3 separate regions of the Homo sapiens genome follow, and all the other regions are linked to region 3. Evidence: promoter capture Hi-C in 16 types of primary human blood cells and fetal thymus (Javierre and others, 2016). All regions are on one chromosome and are shown on one strand. Each heading gives the region's core, a stretch centred on a gene start or on the middle of the fragment in contact. The rest is flanking DNA. Distances are from core to core; before and after follow the strand shown. Region 1 overlaps NMNAT2 (nicotinamide nucleotide adenylyltransferase 2). Region 2 overlaps NMNAT2 (nicotinamide nucleotide adenylyltransferase 2). Region 3 holds the start of SHCBP1L (SHC binding and spindle associated 1 like).

What was found. Contacts are between HindIII fragments. The CHiCAGO score rates a contact against its expected background, and 5 or more counts as called.
Region 1: a contact is called between a fragment that was not itself captured here and the fragment with the promoter of SHCBP1L in region 3, in 1 of 17 cell types (M1 macrophages). The highest score is 7.0, in M1 macrophages.
Region 2: a contact is called between a fragment that was not itself captured here and the fragment with the promoter of SHCBP1L in region 3, in 1 of 17 cell types (endothelial precursors). The highest score is 7.8, in endothelial precursors.

Annotation. Positions count from the first base shown.
Region 1 is chr1:183,255,458-183,259,048 of GRCh38, forward strand. All of the region lies in intron 10 of NMNAT2 (nicotinamide nucleotide adenylyltransferase 2), which reads right to left. It also overlaps a transcript of LAMC2 not described here. Among named protein-coding and RNA genes, the nearest start is that of LAMC2, 71 kb to the left of the region's middle. The HindIII fragment of the contact is 1,321 bases long and covers 1,211-2,531 here.
Region 2 is chr1:183,334,622-183,338,185 of GRCh38, forward strand. The region is part of intron 1 of NMNAT2 (nicotinamide nucleotide adenylyltransferase 2); the gene reads right to left. Among named protein-coding and RNA genes, the nearest start is that of NMNAT2, 82 kb to the right of the region's middle. The HindIII fragment of the contact is 2,074 bases long and covers 994-3,067 here.
Region 3 is chr1:182,951,872-182,955,361 of GRCh38, forward strand. SHCBP1L (SHC binding and spindle associated 1 like) reads right to left here and starts at 1,295. Exons shown (of 10, transcript NM_030933.4): 1 at 858-1,295. The coding sequence starts at 1,262. It also overlaps the pseudogene LOC100271717. The HindIII fragment of the contact is 6,039 bases long and covers 1-3,490 here.

The DNA.
Region 1 (3,591 bases), core at 621-3,120, 300 kb after region 3:
TGCCATTGGGATTTTGATAGGTATTTCATTAAATCTTTATATTTCTTTAGGTAGCATGGACATTTTAGCAATATTAACTTTTCTGATCCATGAGCATGAAATACTTTTCATTTATTTGTGTTGTCTTCAATTTCTTTTGTCCATGTTTTATATATACTCCAGTGTACAGATTTTTCACTTCCTTTGTTAAATTTATTCCTAAGGGTTTTTTTTTTTTTTTTTTTCAGACAGAGTCTCACTCTGTCACCCAGGCAGGCATGCAATGGTGTGATCTTGACTCACTGCAACCTCAGCCTCCTGGGTTCAAGTGATTCTCCTACCTCGGCCTCCCGAGTAGCTCGGATTACAGGCACAAGCCACAATGCCCAGCTAATTTTTGTATTTCTGTTAGAGACAGGGTTTCACCATATTGGCCAGACTGGTCTCTAACTCCTAACCTCAAGTGATCCACCTGCCTCCGCCTCCCAAAGTGCTGGGATTATAGGTGTGAGCCACCGTGCCTGGCTGTCTAACTGCTATTGATAGTACTTTCAGTACTTTGCTGAATGGAAGTGGGAATAGTGGGCATTCTTGCTTTATATCAGGTCTTAGAGGAAAAGCTTTCATTTTCTCCCCATTGATTATAATGTTAGCTGTGGGTTTTTTAAAAAAAATAAAATAAATTGCCTTGCCGGGAGTGGTGGCTCACGCGTGTAATCCCAGCACTTTGGGAGGCTGAGGCAGGCAGATCACGAGGTCAGGCGTTCGAGCCCAGTCTGGCCAACATAGCGAAACCCTGTCTCTACCAAAAATACACAAAAAATTAGCTGGGCATGGTAGTGTGTGCCTGTAATCCCAGCTACTTAGGAGGCTGAGGCAGGAGAATCACGTGAACCCAGGAGGCGGAGGTTGCAGTGAGCAGAGATTGTGCCACTGCACTCCAGCCTGGGTGACAGAACCAGACTCCATCTCAAAAAAAATAATAAAAAAATTAAAAAATTTAAAAAATGGCCTTCGTTATGTTGAGAAACTTTCCTTCTATATTTAAACTGTTAAGAATCTTTATCAAGAAAGGATGTTGAACTTTGTCCAATGCTTTATCTGCATCAATTGATATGGTCATGTGGTTTTATCTTTCAGTCTATTTATGTGATGTATCACACTGACTGATTTGCATATGTTAAACCAGCCTTGTGTGCCAGGGATAAATCCTACTTGATCATCATGTATAAGCTTCATGTTGTGTTGTTGAATTCAATTTGCTAATGTTTTATTGAGGACTTTTACATCAATGCTCATCAGAAATATTGGCCTACAGTTTTCTTTTCTTGTGGTGTCTTTTTTTTTCTGTTGCCCAGGCTGGAGTGCAGCAGCGCATGATCTCAGTTCACTGCAACCTCTGCCTTCTGGGTTCAAGTGATTCTTCTGCCTCAGCCTCCCAAGTAGCTGGGATTACAGTCACGTGCCACCATGCCTGGATAATTTTTGTATTTTTAGTAGAGATGGGGTTTAACCATATTAGCCAGACTCATCTTGAACTCCTGACCTCAAGTGATCGATCTGCCTTGGCCTCCCAAAGTGCTAGGATTACAGGCATGAGCCACTGTGCCTGGCCTCTTTGGTGTCTTTATCTGGCTTAGGTATCAAAGGCGATGCTGGCCTCGTAGAATGTGCTAGGAGGTATTCCTTCCAGCTGTATTTCTTTGAAGAGTTTAAAATGTATAGGCCAGGCGTAGTGGTTCATGCCTGTAATACCAGCACTTTGGGAGGCCGAGGTGGGTGGATCACAAGCTCAGGAGTTCAAGACCAGCCTGGCCAACATAGTAAAACCCTGTCTCTACCAAAAATACAAAAATTAGCTGGGTGTGGTGGCAGGCACCTGTAATCCCAGCTACTTGGGAGGCTGAGGCAGGAGAATCACTTGAACCCGGGACGCGGAGGTTGCAGTGAGCCAAGATCACGCTATTGCACTCCAGCCTGGGCGACAGAGTGAGACTCTGTCTAAAAAAAGAAGTATTGGTATTAATTATTCTTTGAAAATTTGGTAGAATTCAGCTCTGAAGTCATCTGGTCCTGGGCTTTTCTTTGTTGGGAAGTTTTTAATTACTACTTCAATCTATTTGTTATTGGTCTGTTCAGGCTATTCCTGATTCAATCTTGCCAGATTATCTTTTTAAAGGAATTTATCCCTGCCCTCTAGGTTACCAAATTTGTTTGCATATAATTGTTCATAATAATTCCTTATGATCCATCTTATTTCTGAGACATCTGTTATAATGTCTACACTTTCATTTCTGATTTTATATATTTGAGTCTTTTTTTCAGTCTAGATAAAGGTTTGTCAATTTTGTTTTTTTTTTTCAAAAAACCAACTCTTCATTTTATTAATTTTTTCTATGGTTTTTCTATTCTCTATTTAGTTTTGCTCTAATCTTTATTATTTCCTTCCTTTGGGTTTAGTTTGTTCTTCTTTTTCTAGTTCCTTAAGGCATAATGCTAGGCAATTTATTTGGGGTCTTTCTTCTGTTTTAATGGGAGCAATTATTGTTAGAAGCTTTCCTCTTAGAACTATCCTTAGTTTATCCTTTTGGGTTCCTCTGCATGCTGGCCTCAAGAGTATGAATTCTCTTCCAGGGATTTTTGGGATTCACTGCATCTTTTCCTTCCTACAGGAGCCCATGGAGGAGAGGCACCAACAGGTATAAAGGACTCCAGTGACACATTTTGGCTTCTGCACAGTTTTTTTCCAGCCTTGGTCTGCCTACTTCCTGTTCTCTCCTAACACAATAGTCTAGGTGTCAGACCCAAACGAACTATTTGTAAAAATTCATATACGCCTCCACATACGTAGATTCTAAAAGGCATCTGAGCCCTGCCTGTGAGATCTCACTGGAGACCAGCTCACTGCCTTTCAATGCATGCACTGCCCTTGAAACCACCTTTGCAAAATTATGACTGAGGCAGTGAAAGAGATCTAACTTAACCGACTCCATCTTGCTTCTAACCTCCAAGCTGTCCTTGTTCCTGGTGTAGGCTGAACTAACTTCAGGAGAAACTTAGTTTATAGTTTATAGTTTGGGAGAAACTTAGTTTATAGTTTAAAAAAGAGGACAACAGCCCTTTCCCAAAGCAGACCTCCTTCTTGCCTAGGGACTAGATTGACTTTGTAGGACTAACATTAGCCACAAGGTTAGAAATTACGGTTTAGGAGTCATGCAGCTGAAGGCTACAAGATCTGACCCTCCCTAAACTGCTCCTAAGATCAGTGTTTGCAATATTTTGTAGACCCTGCACTTGATGGACCAGCTGGCACCACCCAGATCAATAAACTGGCTTATTTGAATTTGCGGCCCCCCACCCAGGAACTGACTCAGTGCAAGAAGACAGCTTCGACTCCCTGTGATTTCATCTCTGACCAATCCGCACTCCTGGCTCACTGGCTTCCCCAACCCATGAAGTTTTCCTTAAAAACTCTGCTCCCGAAATGCTCAGGGAGACTGATTTGATAACAATAAAACTCTGGTCTCCCGCACAGCCGGCTCTGCGTGAATTACTCTTTCTCTATTGCAATTCCCCTGTCTTGATGAATCTGCTCTGTCTAGGCAGCGAGCA
Region 2 (3,564 bases), core at 781-3,280, 380 kb after region 3:
GCCTCAGCCTCCTGAGTAGTTGGGATTACAGGCACCCACCACCAAGCCCAGCTAATTTTTGTATTTTTAGTGGAGATGGGGTTTCACCATGTTGGCCAGGCTGGTCTCGAACTCCTGACCTCAAGTGATCCGCCCATCTCAGCCTCCCAAAGTGCTGGGATTACAGGCATGAGCCACCGCACCTGGCCCAAGGCCACCCATTCTTCAGGTCGTGACCCAAACTGCCAGGACAGCTAAGCCCTGGGGTTGGGAGACTCCACGGTGCCCTAGTAAGGAAGCTCTGGGCTGACTTCCTGTCTGTTCTGGGTCAGGAAAAAGTTACATGATATTGTCCTAAGTGGAGAGAGTTAAGGAACTGGAGCACAACTTGGAATTAGATTAACATAAAAATCTGATTCAGCCAGGTCTCTCAGCTCCTCACTACATCAATTAATAACAATTGTCAAGTATAACCTACCAGGTACCTTACAGGTATCTCCTCATTTAATCCACTGAACTGTTGCATTATTCCCGTTTTACTGGGCTTCTGTGAAAAGTCACCGAACAATCACAACCAAAATAACAATTCCCCAAACAACTAGTTTCCTTCTTCTTGTTAGATCCCGTCTCTGTTAACAGCAACACCATCTACTCAGATGTCCAAATTAAAAAGTTCTGGTAGAAACAACATGGTCTCTTTCTACTCTATACCTCTGCACAAATCCGGCCCTATGTCTTGAAAAATCTATACCTCCAGCTGTGGATGCAAATAGGAAGGAAATAGCCCTTCACTCATTAGTGTAAAATGTGAATGAACCACCAACATGGCCACCACCTGAGTCTCCTCTGCACCCCTCTGTGGCAAGGTGATGTGAGGAAGCTCTTTTTCTGATTATGGATGCTTTTGCAACAGCCAAGCTTGAAGATGTTTCTGCTGTAGTCATCTTCAGTTCCAGCTTGGCTATGTTTCCTTGGGATAGACATGGGAGAAATGTCTATATAATGCCTTCCTAAAGCTTGGGAAAAATAGAACTTCCCTGGTGTCCCAGGATGGGGTTAGTTGATCATGCCTTTGTGCTGCCACATTGCGCATACTCCTTTTTGCAGTTATCCCTGTGTACTTCATTCATTTTATTTCATTATTTTTACTATATGTTTTGCCAACTAGATTATAGGGTCTCAGAAGTCAGGATCATGTCTAATATATCTTCTGATCCCAAGTCTAACCAGTGCTTGACACATTACAGGCACCCATCAATGTTTGTTGGATAAATAATCTGTGAATACAATAGGCTGGCCTATCTTTGGGCACAGGATGATCTCAGGAGATACGGAGGTTTACAAGGAGAGTAGGAGGGAGAGACCTTCACAACAAGGGTATCTGAACTCTGTGAAACTCATTTCTGTGAGAAACTAAAAGAGTCTGAAATTCTTCCCTAAATGTGTGTGATTTCTTCTCATACCAACTTTATTCCCTGGCAACAGGCTGTAATGTTTTCCTAAATCAGCCCAGTGAACTTAGGCTTGTTGGGTTTTAACCAACAGTAGCACTGTAGTGTTACTAGAGTAGTGCCACAATCAAATCTAAGCCTAATAGACTAGGATGAAAGTCATTTAATAACAAAAAGACAAACAAGGCAATTAAAAGAAAATGTATGAAAACTTGAACGGACATTTCACAAAAGAAGATATATATAAGTGGCCAATAACCACATGACAAAGTACTCAGTGTCATTAGAAATCAAATAAATGCAAAAGAAAATTACAATGAGATACCACCTCATACCAGTTTGAAAAACCAATATGTGTTAAAACCTTTTTATTTTGAAAATAATTGTAGCTTCACAGGAAGTTGCAAAGAGAGTATAGAGAGAATACTCTTCACCCAATTTCCCCCACTGGTTATATATCATATCACTTCATATGGATTTGAAAACCTACAATTAAAAAGACTGACATTACCAAATATTGTTGGTGATAGGGAGGAACTGGAATTCTCATACGTTGCTGGTAGGATTGTCAAATGGCAACCACTTTGGAAAACCATGCAGTAGTTCTTTACAAAGTTAAACAAACACCAGATGATTCAGCAATTCTATTCCTAAATACTTACCTAAAAGAAATGAAAACCTGTGACCACAAAAATACTTACACAAGAATGTTTCTAGCAGTTGTGTTTACAATAGCTACAAACCAGAAACAACCCAAATGTTCATCAATAGGAAATTGGAGAAATAAACTGTGGTAGATTCAAACAATGGAATACTTCATAGCAACACAAAAGGATACAATCTACTACTTGCAAGAACACAGATAAGTCTGTTGGGAGTAGAAAGCCAAATACAAAACAATGTATACTGTTTAATTTCATTAAACTAAAGGTCAAGAATGCAAAACTAATCTATAGTGACAAAAATCAGAATAGCTGCCTACAGGGAATAAGGACTGCCTGGAAGGGAGCAGGGGAAATCTTTCTGGGGTGATTAGAATGGTCTGTATCTTGATTGGAGAGTTGGTTACACAGGTGTATTTGTCAAAATTCAGTGACTTGAACATTTAAGATCTGTGCTTGCCACTCTATGTAAATATTTTCCTTAATTTTTAAAAATGAAAATAATGGGAAAAAAGATTTCTACAATAAGAGAGAAAGAATGACATAGTGAAGGGATAAAAATATGAAAAAAATTAGGAAGAGAGAAAATCCTGCTGTTTACTACCTGTCAGTAGTAGTATATTTTTAAAATCATGACTATGTTTTACTTTGATGAAAATACAACAACAAATTTATCTCTTTAAACTTCAAAATCCTCACATCACTATTTGATATATTATTTAGTGTTATCATTATCACACAGGTTCTATAAAGAAAAAACCCAAGACATAAAGAGGTTGAGTCATTTACTAAGAAATAAGACCTTGAATCTAGGTTTGCCTACTACCAATAATCTTAACCACCTCCTCTCCACAGCAAAAAAAAAAAAAAAAAAAATACCATACATTTGAGAAGCATCTGTAATTGAGAGTTGCCATCAGTTTGTGGGCTTTTATAATTATTCCTTCAAGAGTAATGCACCAAGGATTCAGCCGAAGCTTCTCTCTGCTGGCAACAATCGTTTCCTGCTCCATTTTTAAATGTTTAATCACTTAGATACCTTTTGCCATCAATACTTTCCATCCATTTGCACTTTTATTGCCATTTTCCAAGGGTCTAAATGCCTCGTAGATGATTCTAGATGTCACAAACCTGGCTTCTTTGTAGAGAGAGGCCTGTGCTGTGCTTAGATGTTTAATGCAAAAGTAGTGGAAATGCTGGGATGTGCATACACTTGTCAGACTGTTTCTTTATTTGCTAGTGAAATCTAAGGAATAAACTGGTTGTTCTCTTATTATTGATTTCAAATAGATCCCCTCTCTAAAGAAAGGTTATGCCATGAACTATAACAATGGAAATGTTGCCAGGCACACTGACCTGCATCTGTAGTCCTAGCTACAGGAGGATCACTGGAGCCCAGACCAGCCCAGGCAACATAGTGAGACCCCCATCTCTTTAAAAAAAAAAAAAAAAAAAGCAAATGCTACAGGATA
Region 3 (3,490 bases), core at 45-2,544:
CCACCAGGCACGGTGGCTCATGCCTGTAATCCCAACACTTTGGGAGGCCGAAGCGGGCAGATTACCTGAGGTCGGGAGTTCGAGTCCAGCCTGACCAACTGGAGAAACCCCATCTGTACTAAAAAAAAATACAAAATTAGCCAGGCGTGGTGGCTCATGCCTGTAATCCCAGCTACTCGGGAGGCTGAGGCAGGAGAATTGCTTGCACCGGGAGGCGGAGGTTGTGTGAGCCGAGATTGCCCCACTGCATTCCGGCATGGGCAACAAGAATGAAACTCCGTCTCCAAAAAAAAAAAAAAAAAAAAAAAAAAAAAAAAAAAATATATATATATATATATATATATATATATATATATATATATATACACACACACACACACACACACACATTTATATATATATATACACACACATATATATCATGCCGCATTGTGGACTGCTGAGTGGGAAGTACCCTTAAAGTAATTTCTAGCATTCTAGTGTAAAAGTCAAGGCTAAGTGATCTTACTCATGTTTGGACATAAACTGTTAAATAAAGGTACCAAGATTCATGCCTGTGCAATGATAAGGCCAATATATCTTCATTTTTTAGGAGCTCTCAGAAAATTCTCTCTCAGGGCTGTCCCGTTACCTGACGAATTTTGTCGGAAACTCGAACCTTAACTCCTCTAGGGCAGGACGCGGGCACCTCTAACAAGGTGAACGCTCTATACATGTTGACTCCATTTACTTTTTTGAAACGCAAGTTTTCGTTGTGCCCTGTGGATCCCCATCCGCCTAAGAGGGAAGCCCCAGATGCCTGTCCCCAGGTTCCGACGAGCTTCCGACCGTAGTCTTCCTGTCCCGGATCCGCTCACCTTACAGTCCTGCAGCACTTCGTCGCAATACAGCGACACCTTCTCGTCCCGCCACATCCCCCTCATACGGGACACGCAGACTGGGGGCAGGGGCTGCGCCTCCTCTTCATCCTCAGGCACTGGCAGCAGGGGCTCCTCCGCCGCCGCCGCCGCCGCCTCTCCCGTGTCCTCGGCCTGAGCCGCGGGCAGGCGCTGGAGCCGCAGCCTGGCCGTCTCCCGGCCCGCTTTCCCCTTCACCGGGCGAGGGGAGGCCACCACCGACCGCACTGGGATCGCGGTGCCCTTCAGGGTGGTCGCGGCCGCCGTGTCCCCGGAGACAGCGGAGGCGGACTTCTCGCCTCGCCTGTCCGGGCTGATGGTGCGGAATGAGTCCGCGGGCACCGAGGCCTTGGAGCCCGACGCCATCTCCTCAGCAGCCCGAGGGCCGAGGCAGCCGTTGGCCACTTTTCCCGCCCTCGGCCGCTCTGGCCAATAGGCGCTCTGCGCTTCAGGCCCGCAACGAGCGGCTGCTCGAGGGCGTCCCGCCGGGTGGGGTGTTGCGGCTCTGGGAGGGATGTGAGGCGCGGCCCAGAGCTAGGGGGTGCGGGGCCTGCGGGTAGAGCGCGGGGTCCTGCGGACGCATTCAGGGTGCTGGGGGGCGCTGCTCAGAGCTAGGTGGGACAGGGCGAAGCGCCTGGGCTCAGGACAGGGGTGGGGGGGCCCGGGTCAGTGTTGGGTGCGGCTCCGTGCCGAACCCCCACCAGGTGCCGCACACACCAGAAGGTGCCAGACGAGCCCAACGCAATGGCTCTAACCCCAGCCCTCTGTCTCCCCCAGGGGAGGTTTCCTTAGGGTCCTCATACGTTTCAGGGTGATTATGAGTCACCTTCCAGGTCATCAGGACCTAAAAAAATGCTCCACCTACCACTCCACAAACAAAGCCTGAAAGAAAATTTATTTTCATACTGGGAGGTGACACTAACTGGAACCCTCTGGCTATTACTAGAGGAAACCCTAGTGACAAATCCAGCAACCTAGATTTCCCTTTTAGCCCCCACCTATTACAGGGTTCACCAAATAGGATTTCCTTTACATTTTAAATAGGACTTTCACTTTTTGCCAAGATGTGGTCATACCAAGGAGAAGTTAGTCTGTTTTCTTGTCTCTGTTGTGCTATTCAAAATTCTCACATAAAAGATTATATTATATAACTGTTAAACTGGACAACAACTTCCAGCTGGGAGTGATGTGTGCAAACTATGAACACTTTCACGATAAAAGTCTGTTCCAGATCATACATTTTGGAGAACAACAGAGACCACTCACTTCTGGTATTTTACTGTTGAATGTATATTGAGCCAATTGGAATTAACGTTTGTTCACAGTCTAGCTGTGAAATACTGCACTGAAGCTGACAGCTCCCAAGGAGAACAGCATTGGGAAAACACCTGCCTTCCTTCACACTCGTCTGGAAGAACACTATGTTAAATTCTGAGTTTATTTTGAGGAAAATATTAACATCATGTGGCTGGGCGCGGTGGCTCACGCCTGTAATCCCAGCGCTTTGGGAGGCCGAGGCGGGCGGATCACAAGGTCAGGAGATCGAGACCATCTTGGCTAACACGGTGAAACCCCGTCTCTACTAAAAATACAAAAAATTAGCCGGGCGCAGTGGCGGGCGCCTGTAGTCCCAGCTACTCGGGAGGCTGAGGCAGGAGAATGGCGTGAACCTGGGAGGCGGAGCTTGCAGTGAGCCGAGATTGCGCCACTGCAATCCGGCCTAGGCTAAAGAGCGGGACTCCGTCTCAAAAAAAAAAAAAAAAAAAAAATTAACATCATGTTACTGTAGTTTAGGGAATAATTACAACATGCATCATGTTTCAATTCTATTCTTACTTTATTCCTTTCGTTGAGTCCTGGACTTTGTTTATAACAATACTAACTGCATATTTCACTCACACACACACACACAAATGTTTTACTCTAGTGTTTCTTCAAAAGTTTGTTTTTGATAAATTATGGGTTTTTTAATTCTTAGGTTCTGAATAATAAAGACCACCTGTCCTGGGCCAAAGTTTAAAAACAGCAACAGCTCCCTTTTCCTCCAAAAGGCAAATACTTGTTAGAAATCTGTTACATGCCACACAATGCGTAGATGCCACAGTTATAGAGGTAAAAGACCAAATCCCTGCCCTCGTAATCCTAGTGAAAGATACAGATGGGTCAGTAGATGATTGTGTTTGGTAAGGACCATGCTTTTATTTATGTAAATACACATAAATACATACATATATATATTTATATACACACAAATAATTTGTATTTATTTATGTGTGTATATATATGCGTGTGTGTGTGTGTGTGTGTGTGTATATATATACACATATATTCCACATTGTAGGAGAAAAGGACCTTTCTTCTCCAAAGAAGGGATACTTAAGCTGAGTTTTTAAAACAACTTTTTTCTTTTTTTTTGCCTCCCAAAGAAATTTAGCTTGTTTCTCCCACCTCCTGTCTCCTCCAGGATGCTTTGACAAATGGAATACCACTGTCCCTTTTTCCTACAATGACTCCCTTCTCCCAACACAGAGCTCCCAATGCCCAGGCTCAAGATCGGCTTTCAGTTCCACCCATGGCCACTGCGTTTCTTGGTC